Linked DNA regions of Homo sapiens: region 2 is linked to region 1. The links are contacts of gene promoters, found by promoter capture Hi-C in human tissues and cell types (Jung and others, 2019). All regions are on one chromosome and are shown on one strand. The core of a region is centred on a gene start or on the middle of the fragment in contact, and the rest is flanking DNA. Distances in the headings are between cores, read along the strand shown. Region 1 holds the start of RPL24 (ribosomal protein L24). Region 2 has its middle 65 kb from the start of RDUR.

Region 1 (7,681 bases), core at 2,883-5,382:
CTGACTGAGGTTTAGTTGGGCCTATAACATATGCAACTTCTTCCTCTGCCTAACACTGTTTTCTCCCCCTTCCCTTCACAAGACTTGATCTGTAACAAATATCTTGAACCCCAAAGTCAGTCTCAGTAACTGTTTCCAGAGAAGCCAGCTTGTGACAGTAGGTGACGTTATCCCACATATTCTGTCACCATAAGTTCATTACTACTAAAATATATCCTTGGCTGGACATGGTGGCTCACGCTTGTGATCCCAGCACTTTGGAAGGCTGAGGTGGGCTGCTCGCTTGAGTCCAGTTCAAGACCTGCCAAGGCAACATGGTGAAACCCCATCTCCACCAAAAATACAAAAAATTAGCTGGCCATGGTGGCAAACACCTATAGTCCCAGCTATTCATGGGGCTGAGGTGGGATGATCACTTGAGCCCAGGAGGTAGGGACTGCAGTGAACCCTGATCATCCACTGCACTTCAGCCTGGGAGACAAGGTGAGGCCCTATCTCAAAAAAAAATTAAAACATAAAATAAATCATATTACAAACACTCTTCTGAACATGTTTAACTTCCCACTACACAGTTGTACCTTAATATCCCTATCAGCATCTTGAACCCAGCCTTTTCAAAATTAACCCTTTCGGGCTGAGCGCAGCGGTTCATGCCTATAATCCCAGCACTTTGGGAGGCCGAGGCGGGTGGATCACCTGAGGTCAGGAGTTCGAGACCAGCCTGACCAATATGGAGAAATCCCATCTCTACTAAAAATACAAAATTAGCTGGGTGTGGTGGCACATGCCTGTAATCCCAGCTACTCGGGAGGCTGAGGCAGCAAAATCACTTGAACCCAGGAGGCGGAAGTTGTGGTGAGCCAAGATCATGCCATTGTACTCCAGCCTGGGCAACAAGTCTCCAAAAAAAAAAAATTAACCCTTTCCCTGACAAACCTACTCCCTTCCTCTTATCTGTCAACTCTTGACAAATGATACCACGATTCACCAAGTCCTCATTGTCAATTTTTCCTTACCTCCTATATTACCTATTTCTATATTAACAAATTACTCCCCTAAACAGTTTAAAACAACACACATTTATGATCTAACAGTTTCTATGGGTTAGGAATTCAAGAGTGGTTTAGATGAGTGGAAATTGGAAGAGCAAGGAACACGTTCTGCCTTAGATCCTTGATCCAGAGAGCACAAAGATACCTTGATTTCAGCCTAGTGATACTGATTTTGAACTTACTGCCTCCAGAACTGTGAGAAAATATGTATCTGTGTTGTTACCAAGTCCATAGTAATTTGTTACAGCAACTACAGGAAACTAATATAGCAGGGAAATATGTACAAATGGGTGACGAAACTGTGAAGGGAAGCAACACACTGTTCTCACAGGGACAGAGGCTGAAAAGGGCACCAAGTTTGGTTCAGTATTGCTCCATAAATGAATAAAAAGAGAATAGAGTGTAGCTGAACCTTTTGCCTATGATAAAAGCAAAAGCATGGATAAAGTCAGCAATAATTTACGGATGGTGTCAGAAGCTCTACTTTATGACACTGTATAATATAAATTCATTTAGAGGTCTCTCTCTGCAAAATTTCTCCCTATTCTAAGAGCATTTTGAGCACAATTTGTTTGTTATGGGAGTGTGTTACAAGGAACCCTGACAAGAAGGCCCTCCAGTAAAGAGTGAAATACAGCCAAAATCCCTAAGGTCCAGTTTCCTGCATTTCTTCCACAGAACCAGTCAGGCCAAACGTAATTTTAAAGAACAATAAAACAAAATCTTTCTAAAATATTGGGAAGGGACTATAAATTCTGAGGTTCTGTGGAACAAAAAAGGACTGCATTCCTTCAGGTGGATCTTGGTTCCACCGGCTACCTAAACTCAGCTGTGCCTTGGATCTTGTAGAAGCCAGGACTATTTCTGAAAGATGTTTTGTTTTGGTTTTTTGTTGTTGTTGTTTGTTTGTTTTCACACGGAGTCTCGCTCTGTCGCCCAGGCTGGAGTGCAGTGGTGCGATCTTGGCTCTCTGCAACCTCCGCTTCCCGGGTTCAAGCGATTTTCCTGCCTCAGCCTCCCGAGTAGGTGGGACTACAGGCGCGCACCACCACACCAGGCTAATTTTTTTTTTTTTTTGTAGAGGCGGGGTTTCATCGTGTTACCCAGGCTGGTCTCAAACTCCTGACCTCGTGATCCGCCCGCCTCGGCATTCCACAGTGCCGGGATTACAGACGTGAGCCGCTGCACCCGGCCTCCTTTTTTTTTTTTTTTTTGATATGGAGTTTTGCTCTTCTTGCCCAGGCTGGAGTGTAGTGGCGCGATCTTGGCTAAATGCAACCTCTGCCTCCCGGGTTCAAGCGATTCTCCTCCCGCAGCCTCCCGAGGAGCTGGGATTACAGGCGTGCGCCACCACGCCCAGCTAATTTTTGTATTTTTAGTAGAGAAGGGGTTTCACCATTTTGACCAGGCTGGGCTGGAACTCCTAACCTCAGGTGATCCGCCCACCTCGGCCTCCCAAAGTGCCGTAATTACAGGCATGAGCCGCCATGACTGGCCACCTAACATCATTCTTAAGACTGGTTCCAGGCCCGGCGCGGTGGCTCACGCCTGTAATCCTAGCACTTTGGGAGAACGAGTGGATCACCTGAGGTCAAGAGTTTGGGACCAGCCTGGACAACATGGTGAAACCCCATCTCTACTAAAAATACAAAAATTAGCCGAGCGTGGTGGCAGGCGCCTGTAATCCCAGCTACTCGGGAGGCTGAGGCAGGAGAATCAATCGTTTGAACCCAGAGGGCGGAGGTTGCAGTGAGCCGAGACCGCGCCACTTCACTCCAGCCTGAATGAAAGAGCGAAACTCCGTCTCAAGGAAAAAAAAAAAAAAAAAAGACTGGCTCCAACACAATTGTACAGTTTTCATGACATTAGTCAGCCAACTTGTTAGACATTCCAAATATCTTCAACCAGCTACCTTACAAAACGTTTTTAGGGTGAGTTGCATACATAGAAAGCAGAACTCAGTCATTACATTTGTTTCCTAGTCATATACTGCAACCTCCCACAGAATTCAAGAATTGCCTCTGGCCACTCCTTGTCATACGATGAAATATGTAGCATCATAGAAGGGCTCAACAGATTGAGCCCTTGGCCTCCCAGCGGGGCTCCACCGACCCCCTCAACTTCACTAGGCAGCAACTCCGAATTGTAGTTCTTAGGCAGGTACTTAATAGGAATTTTGGAAACTGAATGAGCTCATGTTTAAAAAGCCTTTGGCATAATTCCCGGCACAGAGAAAGCGCTCAAAGAATGTTAATTATAATTAATGCAAAGCGCCAACGCGCACTGTTCGATTCGCACAGCCTGAGAAACGGTTCGGTTGTCATTACTTTCTTATAAATGGTGAAACTATTAATTTGTTTGGTTGAGGAAATGGGCCAACAGGGAAGGCAAAATGTGACTGGTTTTACCTGCGGGGCATTCGTCTTTGGGTCTCTTTATGAGAAGAGAGGACACCTTTCTCTTCAGTTCACATTCCCTGCAGCCGGAAGATGGCTCTAGGATACTTGGCAGTAAGAGAGGCAGAATGGGCCGGGCGCAGTGGCTCCCGCCTATAATCCCAACACTTTGGGAGGCCGAGGAGGGCGGACCACCTGAGGTCAGGAGTTCGAGACCAGCCTGACCAACATGGAGAAACCCCGTCTCTACGAAAAATACAAAATTAGCCGGACGTGGTGGCACATGCCTGTAATCCCAGCTACTAGGGAGGCTGAGGCAGGAGAATCGCTTGAACCTGGGAGGCGGAGGTTACGGTGAGCCGAGATTGCGCCACTGCACTCCAGCCTGGGCAACAAGAGCGAAACTCCGTCTCAAAAAAAAAAAAGAGAGGAGAGACAGAGACAGAATGACTCATAAACCAACTGTCTGACTGCCTTTTTGGCAGGCCCTCTGGGCCCGAGAACCCTCCAGCGCCTCTGGATGAATTGCGCCAGAGGAAGTCAGCTGTCAGGGAAAACGAGATCTTTCGCCTCGCGATGATTACGTCATCAAGGAGGGCCAGGAGCATCGAAGGATATTGGGGAGGAGATTTCCGGCCCCCATCCCCGCAGCGACCTTATAAGGTCTCTTCCCATGATTCTCTCTTTCTTTTCGCCATCTTTTGTCTTTCCGTGGAGCTGTCGCCATGAAGTAAGCACGACCCGTGGTTCCCAATCCGCTTACATCCTCGGGCAGAACTCCTCTCTGTCGTCCCTGGCATGGCTGTAGACACCCTCCCTGATGGACTTTCACTTTTTGTTGCAGGGTCGAGCTGTGCAGTTTTAGCGGGTACAAGATCTACCCCGGACACGGGAGGCGCTACGCCAGGACCGACGGGAAGGTAAAAAGCCGCGTCGGCTTCACCTACCTTCTTGTACTCCGAGGAGGAAAGGCTGGTTTAATTCGGTTTAGGCGGGTTTATTCCCCACATCACCACTGGCCTCTGGAAGTCTTCGTGGACGCTCTGTGGACTGGTCGTTAGGACCAGAAACCTCTAAGTGAACCAGTGTTGATTATTTATTGTGAGCCAGGTCGGACATCAGGAGGGGTTTATGTAACTGATGTCCCGGTGTAAGGGAAATAACTGAGGTACGGAGGTACCCTTTGGAATCCTGGGACGGACAAGAGCAGAATGCTTCCCAGAAGGACGCACCACCCTGTCCTTTGCTATGAGCCTAGATTTCCTGCTCTCGAGAAAAGACTAAACGCAAGGACCTTCATAGTGTGACACAGTTACCTGCCAGTTATGTGACAGCCTTTTGGTCCTTGTGGGCCTCAGTTTTGTAAAATGATAAGCCAGAACTAGCATATTGATCTTCTAAGGATTCCAAGCTTACTCAGCCTCTTGTACTTTGTATAGTTAAATAGTAATTCCTTTGCATTTGTCACTCTAGGTTTTCCAGTTTCTTAATGCGAAATGCGAGTCGGCTTTCCTTTCCAAGAGGAATCCTCGGCAGATAAACTGGACTGTCCTCTACAGAAGGAAGCACAAAAAGGGACAGTCGGTAAGTGGAATACGCCTTGATGTTGGGGGCTATCTCTTAAGTTGTCAAAGCTCTCTGAACGTTGGTTTTCTGCTCTGTAAAATTAAATCAGACTGTATGCGAAAGAGCTCTTAAACTGTAAAGCGTCAGCAAAATGAAAAAGATATTATAAACTGTCTCTATATATTTTAGGCTAGTAGCAATACCGAGTTGAAATTTTAAAGTCAGATAAATTACGTTAAGCACCTTTGCGTTATAGGGCAGGGTGGAAGGGCTTAGTTTTCCAGTGGGAGGAAATTGAGAAGTTACCATAATTTGGTTTTGATTGCAATATTTACAGGATTAGTCCTAACATAGCCAGTGGACCATGAACCAGTCCACCATACACTAGTTCATTCACTAGAAAAACAGTGGTTTTTCTGGTCCTTGTTAAGTGTCCTTTTAGCTGGGTTATACATGAGAAAAAGTTTGAGTGCCATGGTAGGACTAGTATTCAGGAGGCTTGGGAATACTTACTGAACACCTTCTGGATGAAGGACTTTTCTAGGTATTGTGAGAAATAAATGCCATCAGACATAAAATATGTTGAAAGTTCAGAGGAAGGAGAAACTTAAAAGTGGATATGACACACCTATTAGGGTGACTATTCAGGAAAAAAAAAAACAGGAATTACAGGTGTTGGTGAGGATGGGGAGAAATTGGAACCTTTGTGCATTGCTAAATATGCAACAGCTGTGAAAAATCATTTGGTGTTTTCTCAAAAGGGTAAACATAAAAATTATCCCAGCAGTTCCACTTCTAAGTTATACCCTAAAACAGTTGAAAGCAGGGACTCTATAACTTGTATATCAGTGTCATAGCAAATCCGGGCTTGGTGGCAGCGGCTGTACTCTAGCTCCTCCGGAGGCCAAGGTGGGAGGATTGTTTGAGGCAACATAGGAGACCTTTAAAAAAAAAAAAAGTTATTTAGATGGATAATGGTGATAGCTACACAGCGCTATGAATGTACATAAGGCCACTATACCTTTTTTTTTTTTTTTTTTTTTTTTTTTTTTTTTTTTTGGGGAGACAGGTCCTCTGTTGCTCAGGCTGGAGAGCAGTGGCAGGATCACAGCTCACTCCACCTCAACCTTATGGGCTCAAGTGATCCTCCCACCTCCGCCTACCCCGTGGTCCACAGGCACATGCCACCATGGCCCAGCTATTTTTTAAATATATTTTGAGGAGACAGAAATCTTTGCGATGTTGCCCAATTTCGTCTCAGATTCTTGGGCTCAAGTAATCCTCCTGCCTTGGCCACCCAAAGTACTGGCATTACAGGCGCGAGCCATCCTGCATAGCTAAATTATAATTTAAAAAGTTAAAATGAGGCTGGGCATGGTGGCTTACATGCCTGTAATCCCAGCACTTTGGGAGGCCAAAACGAGTGGATCACCAGGTCAGGAGTTCAAGAACAGCCTGGCCCACAGAGTGAAACCCTGTCTCTACTAAAAATACAAAAAAAAATTAGCCGGACATGGTGGCAGGTGCCTGTAGTCCCAGCTACTTGGGAGGCTGAGGCAGGAGAATAGCTTGAACCCAGGAAGTGGGGGGTTGCAGTGAGCTGGGATTGTGCCACTGCACTCCACCCTGGGTGACAGGGTGAGGCTCCATTTAAAAAAAAAAAAAAAAGTTAAAATGGGCCTAGTGCAGTGCCTCACGCCTGTAATTCCAGCACTTTGGGAGGCCCAGGCAAGAGGATCCCTTGAGCTTGAGCCCAGGAGTTTGAAACCAACCTGGCAACATAGTAGTGAAGACCCCAGTTTCTACTTAAAAAAATAGAAAACAGGCTGGGGATGGTGGCTCACGCCTGTAATTCTACCACTTGGGGAGGCCAAGGCGGACAGATTGCCTGAGCTCAGGCGTTAGAGACCAGCCTGGGCAACATGGTGGAACCCGGTTTCTACTAAAAATACAAAAATTAGCCGGGCGTGGTGGCGGTTACTTGTGATCCCAGCTACTCAGGAGGCTGAGGCAGAATTGCTTGAACCCCGGAGGTGGAGGCGGAGGTTGCAGTGAGCCAAGATCATGCCACTGCACTCCAGCCTGGGCAACAGAGCAAGGCTGAGTCTTTAAAAAAAAAAAAAAAAAAGAAAAGAAAAACCAAAAGGTTAAAATTGTCAACTTTACATTTTTACCACAATAAAAAAAATGTTTAAGTGTTCGTTTGAGACAAGAATATTAAACAGGTAAATACTGCCATTTACTGTAGAAAAACTGCCATTTTACTGTAGAAACAATAAGATTGCATCTTTCTAAAAAGTTTAAAATTAGCATGTCTGTAAACCACCAATGTGCCTTATTTTTGTTAAAAGTTTTTAAGGTAATTTTGCATGTCAGTGCCTTAATAAACAACTATTCGAATATACTTTGTTCTTGACTTAAAGGTGCACTGCAAGATCTTTTTCTCATAAACACTGTAGTATAGATTTCCAGTAATCTACAGAAAGTGTTAGATTCCACAATACCTTCTCAGACAAATCCTACCTAACATTTGGTGGCTCTCCTGTCAAATAATTGTCTTAATTTATTTCTCCTAGTGACAGTCCTTTGAGTTAAAAAAGCTGAATATGATAATTTTTTTCAATAAGTAAATTATTAAAAGTATAAACAGTCTTCATTTATACTACT
Region 2 (7,681 bases), core at 2,943-5,442, 320 kb before region 1:
CCCTTTCTTCCAGTTGATCGCATCAGCTACTGAGGCTTCTGCATTTGTCACGTAGCTCTCATGCCTTGGTTTTCAGCTCCATCAGGTCCTTAAGGACTTCTCTGCATTGGTTATTCTAGTTATCCATTCATCTATTTTTTTTAAAGTTTTTAATTTCTTTGCCATTGATTCAAACTTCCTCCTGTAGCTCGTAGTAGTTTGATCGTCTGAAGTCTTCTCTCAACTCGTCAAAGTCATTCTCCATCCAGCTTTGTTCCATTGCTGGTGAGGAGCTGCGTTCCTTTGAAGGAGGAGAGGCACTCTGATTTTTAGAGTTTCCAGCTTTTCTGCTCTATTTTTTCCCCATCTTTGTGGTTTTATCTACCTTTGGTCTTTGACAATGGTGATGTGCAGAAGGGTTTTTGGTGTGGATGTCCTTCCTGTTTGTTAGTTTTCCTTCTAACAGACAGGACCCTCAGCTGCAAGTCTGTTGGAGTTTGCTAGAGGTCCACTCCAGACCCTGTTTGCCTGGGTATCAGCAGCAGTGGCTGCAGAACAGCAGATATTGGTGAACCACAAATGCTGCTGCCTGATCGTTCCTCTGGAAGTTTTGTCTCAGAGGAGTACCTGGCCGTGTGAGGTGTCAGTCCGCCCCTACTGGGGGGTGCCTCCCAGTTAGGCTACTTGGGGGTCAGGGACCTGCTTGAGGAGGCAGTCTACCCGTTCTCAGATCTCAAGCTGTGTTCTGGGAGAACCACTACTCTCTTCAAAGCTGTCAGATAGGGACACTTAAGTCTGCAGAGGTTACTGCTGTCTTTTTGTTTGTCTGTGCCCTGCCCCCAGAAGTGGAGCCTACAAAGGCAGGCAGACCTTCTTGAGCTGTGGTGGGCTCCACCCAGTTCGAGTTTCCAGGCCACTTTGTTTACCTAATCAAGTCTCGGCAATGGCAGGCGCCCCTGCCCCAGCCTCGCTGCTGCCTTGCAGTTTGATCTCAGACTGCTGTGCTAGCAATGAGCGAGACTCCGTGGGCGGAGGACCCTCTGAGCCATGTGCGGGATATAATCTCCCGGTGTGCTGTTTTTTAAGCCCATTGGGAAAGCGCAGTATTAGGGTGGGAGTGACCCGATTTTCCAGGTGCCATCTGTCACCCCTTTCTTTGACTAGGAAAGGGAATTCCCTGACCCCTTGCGCTTTCTGGGTGAGGCGATGCCTCACCCTGCTTCAGCTCATGCACAGTGCGCTGCACCCACTGTCCTGCACCCACTGTCTGGCACACCCCAGTGAGATGAACCTGGCACCTCAGTTGGAAATGCAGAAATCACCCGTCTTCTGTGTCGCTCACGTTGGGAGCTGTAGACCAGAGCTGTTCCTATTCAGCCATCTTGGCTCCTCCCAGCAACAAAGACTTTTTAAAGAGGAAAAAGACACTGGCTAACTTATCTAGATTTTAAAAAACTTAAACATTAGTAAATCAATTAAAGCATTACATTTTTTAAAATGCATCATGATTAAAGGATTTATTCCAAAAAATCAAGTTTGGCTTAACATTATCAGAATGTCCAGACAGGGCACGGTGGCTCACGGCTGTAATCTCAGCACTTTGGGAGGCTGAGGCAGGCGGATCACGAGGTCAGGGGTTCAAGACCAGCCTGGTCTTGAAACCCTGTCTCTACTAAAAATACAAAAATTAGCCAGGTGTGATGGCATGCGCCTGTAATCCCAGCTACTCAGGAGGCTGAGGCAGGAGAATCGCTTGAACCTGGGAGGTGGAGGTTGCAGTGAGCAGTGATCACACCACTGCATTCCAGCCTGGGCGACAGAGTGAGACTCTGTCTCAAAAAAAAAAAAGAATGTCCAATGTATCGCACTAAATTATAGATTAAAGGAGAAAAATTATATTATCAAGAAAAAGCAAAATATTAACCAAACACAAAAATCTGTTCATGATTGAAAAGAAGGAAAAAACCTTTCCACAAACTAGGAATAGAATGGACATTCTACAATCTAATAAAGACATCTATGCCTTTATTAGGCATAATGCATAATTAGGCATTAAGAAAACAAAAAGCTTGTGTTTTCTTAATGGCAAAATATTAAATGTTTTCTCCCTAAAATTGGGAACAGGGTAAAAATGTCTGCTTTTATTGTTTTTATTCAACATTATGTTTGGGTTTCAGCTTCCTTGAGCAGGGAGCTTGCTCTTGAGAGAAGTGACTTCAGCTGAGGCATTTCCCGCAGTGTGGACTGAAAGCTGAGGGTTATTTGCTGGCAGTACTCCCAGAACTTGGTAAGAGCTTCACTCCTGAGGGAGAATTTAAGTGCCTCATTACTGTGTCCATTACATATTTTGTTTCTGAATCCTCTACATGACCTGTTAAACACAATTATAAAATGAAAAAAATACCCAGAAACAGTGCTAAGAAAGCCCCTCAATAGAAACTGTGGGCAAATGTCCTTTGTAGCTCATGAAGAAGGTTGTCCCCATCAGAGGGAAAAAAATATGGCTGCTGAGTTTTAGAACATTTATTTAAAGATAGAGTTTTGTCTATTTACTTCTATCAGAAATTATCAGTGTGTCTATGACTCAAACTTCCTCTAAGTTTTTATGTTCATATATTCATATTCTTTGAGTCATTTGTTCAACAGTAAAATCATCTATAAAGTTAGTCTAATCCCAGCAAAATTTCCACCACAGCTTTCTTTTTTGGAACTTTTCAAACTAATCTCAAAGTGTTTGTGGAATAAAAAATTTGCAAAAATAACCAAAAACCTTTTTTAGAAAGAAATATATAAATGGTGTGGGGAAACATGCCTTACCAGGTATCAAAGCATAAAATAATGTTACAGGAATTCAAGAAGTATATATCTGCCCTAAATTTAGCAAAAAGATGAGTGGACCAATATAGAAATTACAAATAAGACTTATGAATATAAGAATTAACATTTTTGACAAGTAGTAAAATGAAGGAATGTTCCATAAATGTTACTAAAATATATCTAATAAATGCATTATTTTCCGACTCTATCAAAATTAAAAGTTCACAAACACTTCACATTTACCTAGAATGGATAACAGTGGATATTGACTATATACATTTACCGGATCACCTAGGCATCCATCAGAGCAACAGAGGGTAGAGGATAAATCCTACAAATATTCAGGGGCCTGTCACATCAATAAATTTTTTAGGGGGCTAGTGGCCTGAAGTATGCCATGATGTTACCTCCGAAGTAGAGGACAGATTCTTGTACTTTGCACCTCCCACCAAGAAGGAATACAACCCTTAATAGACTTGTTCAAGTTCTGGAGATAGTGTATTGCATATCTAAGATATTGGTTCTACCCATTCACTAGGATACATGAAAGGCTTCCAGCTTTGAGTAGGACCTCGAGCAGAGAAAAGCTATGAAATAGGACTAGATTCTGGTACAAGTGGCCCTGCTTTTTAAATTATATAACCAGTAGTCATTATTGCATTAGAGACATCATTAGTGGGGAAAGATGTTGTGCAAAGTTTATGACAAACACTAATGAGAGAGCAAGATTATGCTCCCTGCAGTGGAGAATTACTCAGCTTACAAATGACAGATTCTGCTGTTCCACTGAACTCTAGTAGAGATGAATAGCTTGTTCGTGGGACATTAAGTGGACAAGTGGCCAGAACTACTGATCATGAGCTGTCAGATCCACAAAATCATAAGGTCAGATGGAACCAGAAGCAGGCCATTAAAATGTGCAAGTGCCACATCTGGGATTTAGCATGAACAAAGCCAGAGAGTTCAAAAAGGACACATGAGCAGCTAGCCTAGATCTGCATGTCATTGTCATCCACCACTACTGCACCAACTCATATATGTGGTCACATAGCAATTACCATGTGACTAGCTCACTATGATCATTTTATGTGTCAACTTGACTGGGCCATGGGATGCACAGATATTTGGTCAAAGAGCATTCTGAGTCTTTTCATAAGGATGTTTTGGGATGAGATTGATATTTAAATCAATAGATTAAGTAAAGCAGATGATCCTCCACAATGTAAGTGAGCCTCATCCAATCAGCTGACAGCCTCAGTAGAAAAAGACTGACCTCTTCCAAGAAAGAATTCTCCTGCCTGACAGCCTTCTAACTGAGACATGAGCTCTGCAGATTTTGGACTTGCCAGTCTTCAAAATCGTCAGTTGATTCCTTATAACCAATATCTTAAGATAAATATAAATCTTTTAGGAAATAGGTAAATAGATTAGATAGGTAGATAGATAGATAGATGATAGATAGATAGATAGATAGATAGATAGATAGATAGATAGATAGAAAATAGATAATAGATAGATAGAGATAATTAATTCAGCTTCTCTGCAGAATGCTGACTAGTAACAGATTTTGGTTCTGAAAGTGGTTCCAGAGGAACAGAATCTGCAGGATGAATTTTCTGAATTGGTTCTAGAGTTTCTGAAATTGGCTCTCTAATCTGGCTAGTTTTAAAGATACGAGTGACTCTATTTCCAGTAGTAAAAATAGCATTGGTAGTCCCTAGCGTGATCTGGACTATCACGAATAATAGAGGTACACAAAATATTACCACTGAATACTCCCAACCAAACACTTATAAGAAGCAAGCATCTAGTGACCATGTATATAATATTTTTGAGCATTGTTGTCAAACTAACAAGTATAATGAGATTGCCTGGTTGTTCCTTGTCACTGAACAAAATGGAGAAAGAAAAGGATGAGCTCAAGCATTAAAGTTTTTTGCATAAAAATGACATGAAAACTTCTATATCTGCCCTAAGACATTTATCTCCTGTAGCTGCAGAACTGACGTAACTGAAACCATACCCAAGCTCTGTATCCTGTGACTGAATTACAATGCAAATTACTTTCCCAGCCTATCATGTATTGTTTTCCTTCTTGATAGGAAGTACATAGTACAATAATCTGCCCTTTATTTTGGAAGTAATGTCCTGGCATGCTCCAGGCCACTAAACTCCTAAACATTTTATTGATGTGATAGGACGCTGAATATTTGTAGGATTTGTCTCCTATTCTCTGATGTTCTGAGGAATGTCCAGGTGATGAAGGTAAATATATATAATCAATATCCACTGTTATCCATTCTAGGTAAAGATGAAGTATTTGTGATTCTTCATTTTGCTACTCATTAAAAGTATTACTCATTCATATATGCATGAGTCTGATGTGGAATCTCTATTTTGGTCCACTCATCTATTTGCTTATCTGGAAGCCATAGACATACTTGTTTTGGGTGTTTTGTTTTTTTTGGTTTTTTTGTTTTGTTTTTTAAGAGACATGTTCTTTTTATGTTAACCAGACTGGACTCAAACATCTGGCCTCAAGTGATCCTCCTGCTTTGGCCTCCTAAAGTGTTGAGATTACAGACATGAATCACCGCACTCAGCCTGAGACATACTTCTTTAATTCCTGTAACATTATTTTATGCTTTGATACCTGGTAAGCCATATTTGTCAACACCATTTATATATCTCTTTTTTAAAAAGTTTATTTGGTTATTCTGTCCACTGATAGAATGAAGGTATCGATTAGGAAAGAACGGGATCCTGAATTTGCAATGGGAATATGTGGGAAGAACCTAATGGAGCGAGGGACAAAAATCCTCCAAATTCTGATGAGTCTTCTTTGCCAGTAGAAGCATCCTCTCCACCCTCATCTATAGGGATTAACCCTGCATTGTCTGAGGAAAAGGTAATGGCCTCCTCTGAGTCCATTGCCTAACAAGGCAATGCCGATTCTCCTCAGGACTTATCCCCAAAACCCCTTTGAATTTTAGACTTACACCTAGACTCAAGTCTCAGCAGGACCCTAATGGTGAGGTACAAAGTGTGACCCTTGAGGTGTGCTACACTCCAAAATAACTACTTGAGTTTTCTAATTTGTACAAACAGAAATCTGGGGAATATATGTGGGAATGGATATTAAGGGTGTGGTATAATGGTGGAAGGAACATAAAGTTGGATGAGGCTAAATTTATTGATATGAGCCCACTAAGCAGAGATTCTGCACTTAATGTTGCAGCTCAGGGAAATAGAAAGGGCTCTAACAGTTTGTGTGGTTGGCTAAAACATGGACCAAAAGGTGGCCCACAGTGTGTTAGAAATGCTGGACTTGCCTTGGTTTAATGTAGAGAAAGGGATTCAAAGGCCCAGAAAGATTGGAATTTTGGAGTAAATTTGTCATTTAAGGTCTACTCACCCACCCTGGCAGGGTCCAGAAGACATAACTTTCACCACAACTGTGAGAAATACATTTTTGAGAGGAGCTCTAACATTTGAAGAGCTGTACAATCACTCTTCTCTGTAGACCAGATCCTGCAATGGGAACTGCAGCCCCTGAATTGGGAAATCTAAATACAACAGTAGTAATTGGATCCCAGGGTGGCAGAAGCCAAGCGGCAGCCCTCAGTAACCACCAAAGGCAAGGTGAGTGTGGTCACCATGATGAAGAGCAGAGTCAAAGCAGTAATCATCCTGTGTGATTGACTAAATGATCATGGTGTTCCTACAAGCTAAAGAGATAAGAAGCCTACTAAATTCTTACTTCATCTATGTAAGCAGAAAAGATCTAGGTCAAGTGAACCGAATTCTAAAGTGAATCAAAAAAACAAAGGAGGCACAGGCCCTCAATTAACCTTCTGATGAGCCAATTTACAGATCAAGGCCCCCTTGAATAAAGGGGAAGCTGGTTCCCCTTGAGGAAGGACATAGCACACTGCCAAATATTTAGACTGTTAATCTTTCTCCCAAAGAGATCTATAGTCTTTTACAAAGGTAAGTATGTACTGAGGGGAGGGGGAAATCAGACCTTTCAGGGACTACTGGACACTGGCTCTGAACTGACACTAATTCCAGGACACTTCAAACATCACTGTGTTTCATCAGTCAGAGAAGGGGCTTATGGCGGTCTGCTAATCAATGGAGTTTTAACTCATGTCTATATCACAGTGGCCTGGTATGCCCCTGAACCTATCCTGTAGTTATTTTCCCAGTTCCAGAATGTATAATTGGAGTAGATATACTCATCAGGTGACAGCCTCCCCACATTGGTTCATTGACCTATGGTGTAAGGGCTACTACAGTAGAAAGGGACAGATGGAAGCAACTAAAACTGCCTCTATCTAAGAAAATAGTAACCAAAAGCAATACCACATTCCTGGAGGGATTGCAGAGATCAGTCCACCATTAAGGACTTGAAAGATTCAGGGGTGGTGATTCCCACCATATCCTCATTCAACTCACCTATTTGGCCTTTGTAAAAGACAGATGAATGACAGATCATTGTGAGATTAGTACAGTGACTCTAACTACAGCTGCTATACCAGGTGTGGTTTCATAACTTGAACACACCAACACATCCCCTGACACCTTGTATTTTCCTGGTATTTCTTGATACCCATTAGTAAAGACCACCAGAAGCAGTATGCTTTCAGCTGGCAGAGCCTGCAGTACATCTTCACTGTCCCACCTCACGGATATATCAACTCTTCTTCCCTATATCATAATTTCATTTGCAGGAATCTTTTTTTTTTTTTCCTTTTCAGACCAGAGTCTCACCCTGTCACCCAGGCTGGAGTACAGTGGTGCAACCTTGGCTCACTGCAACCTCCACTTCCCAGGTTCAAGCAATTGTTGTGCCTCAGCCTCCCAAGTAGCTGGGATTACAGAT

The links. The method cuts DNA at HindIII sites, captures the fragments that hold promoters and counts their contacts. A contact is called where the count stands out against the background at its distance.
Region 2: a fragment that was not itself captured here is called in contact with the fragment with the promoter of RPL24 in region 1 in 1 of the 25 tissues and cell types used here (lymphoblastoid cells).

Annotation. Positions count from the first base shown.
Region 1 is chr3:101,683,169-101,690,849 of GRCh38, reverse strand. RPL24 (ribosomal protein L24) reads left to right here and starts at 4,132. Exons shown (of 6, transcript NM_000986.4): 1 at 4,132-4,178; 2 at 4,293-4,368; 3 at 4,922-5,032. The coding sequence starts at 4,174. LOC124906262 (endogenous retrovirus group K member 5 Gag polyprotein) reads right to left here. Exons shown (of 3, transcript XM_047449415.1): 2 at 3,461-5,955. The coding sequence starts at 3,471. RefSeq lists enhancers at 2,372-2,925, 3,836-3,885, 3,896-4,385, 3,356-4,555, 4,546-4,735 and 2 more. The HindIII fragment of the contact is 8,226 bases long and covers 2,055-7,681 here.
Region 2 is chr3:102,001,897-102,009,577 of GRCh38, reverse strand. No RefSeq gene overlaps it. Among named protein-coding and RNA genes, the nearest start is that of RDUR, 65 kb to the right of the region's middle. The HindIII fragment of the contact is 6,844 bases long and covers 771-7,614 here.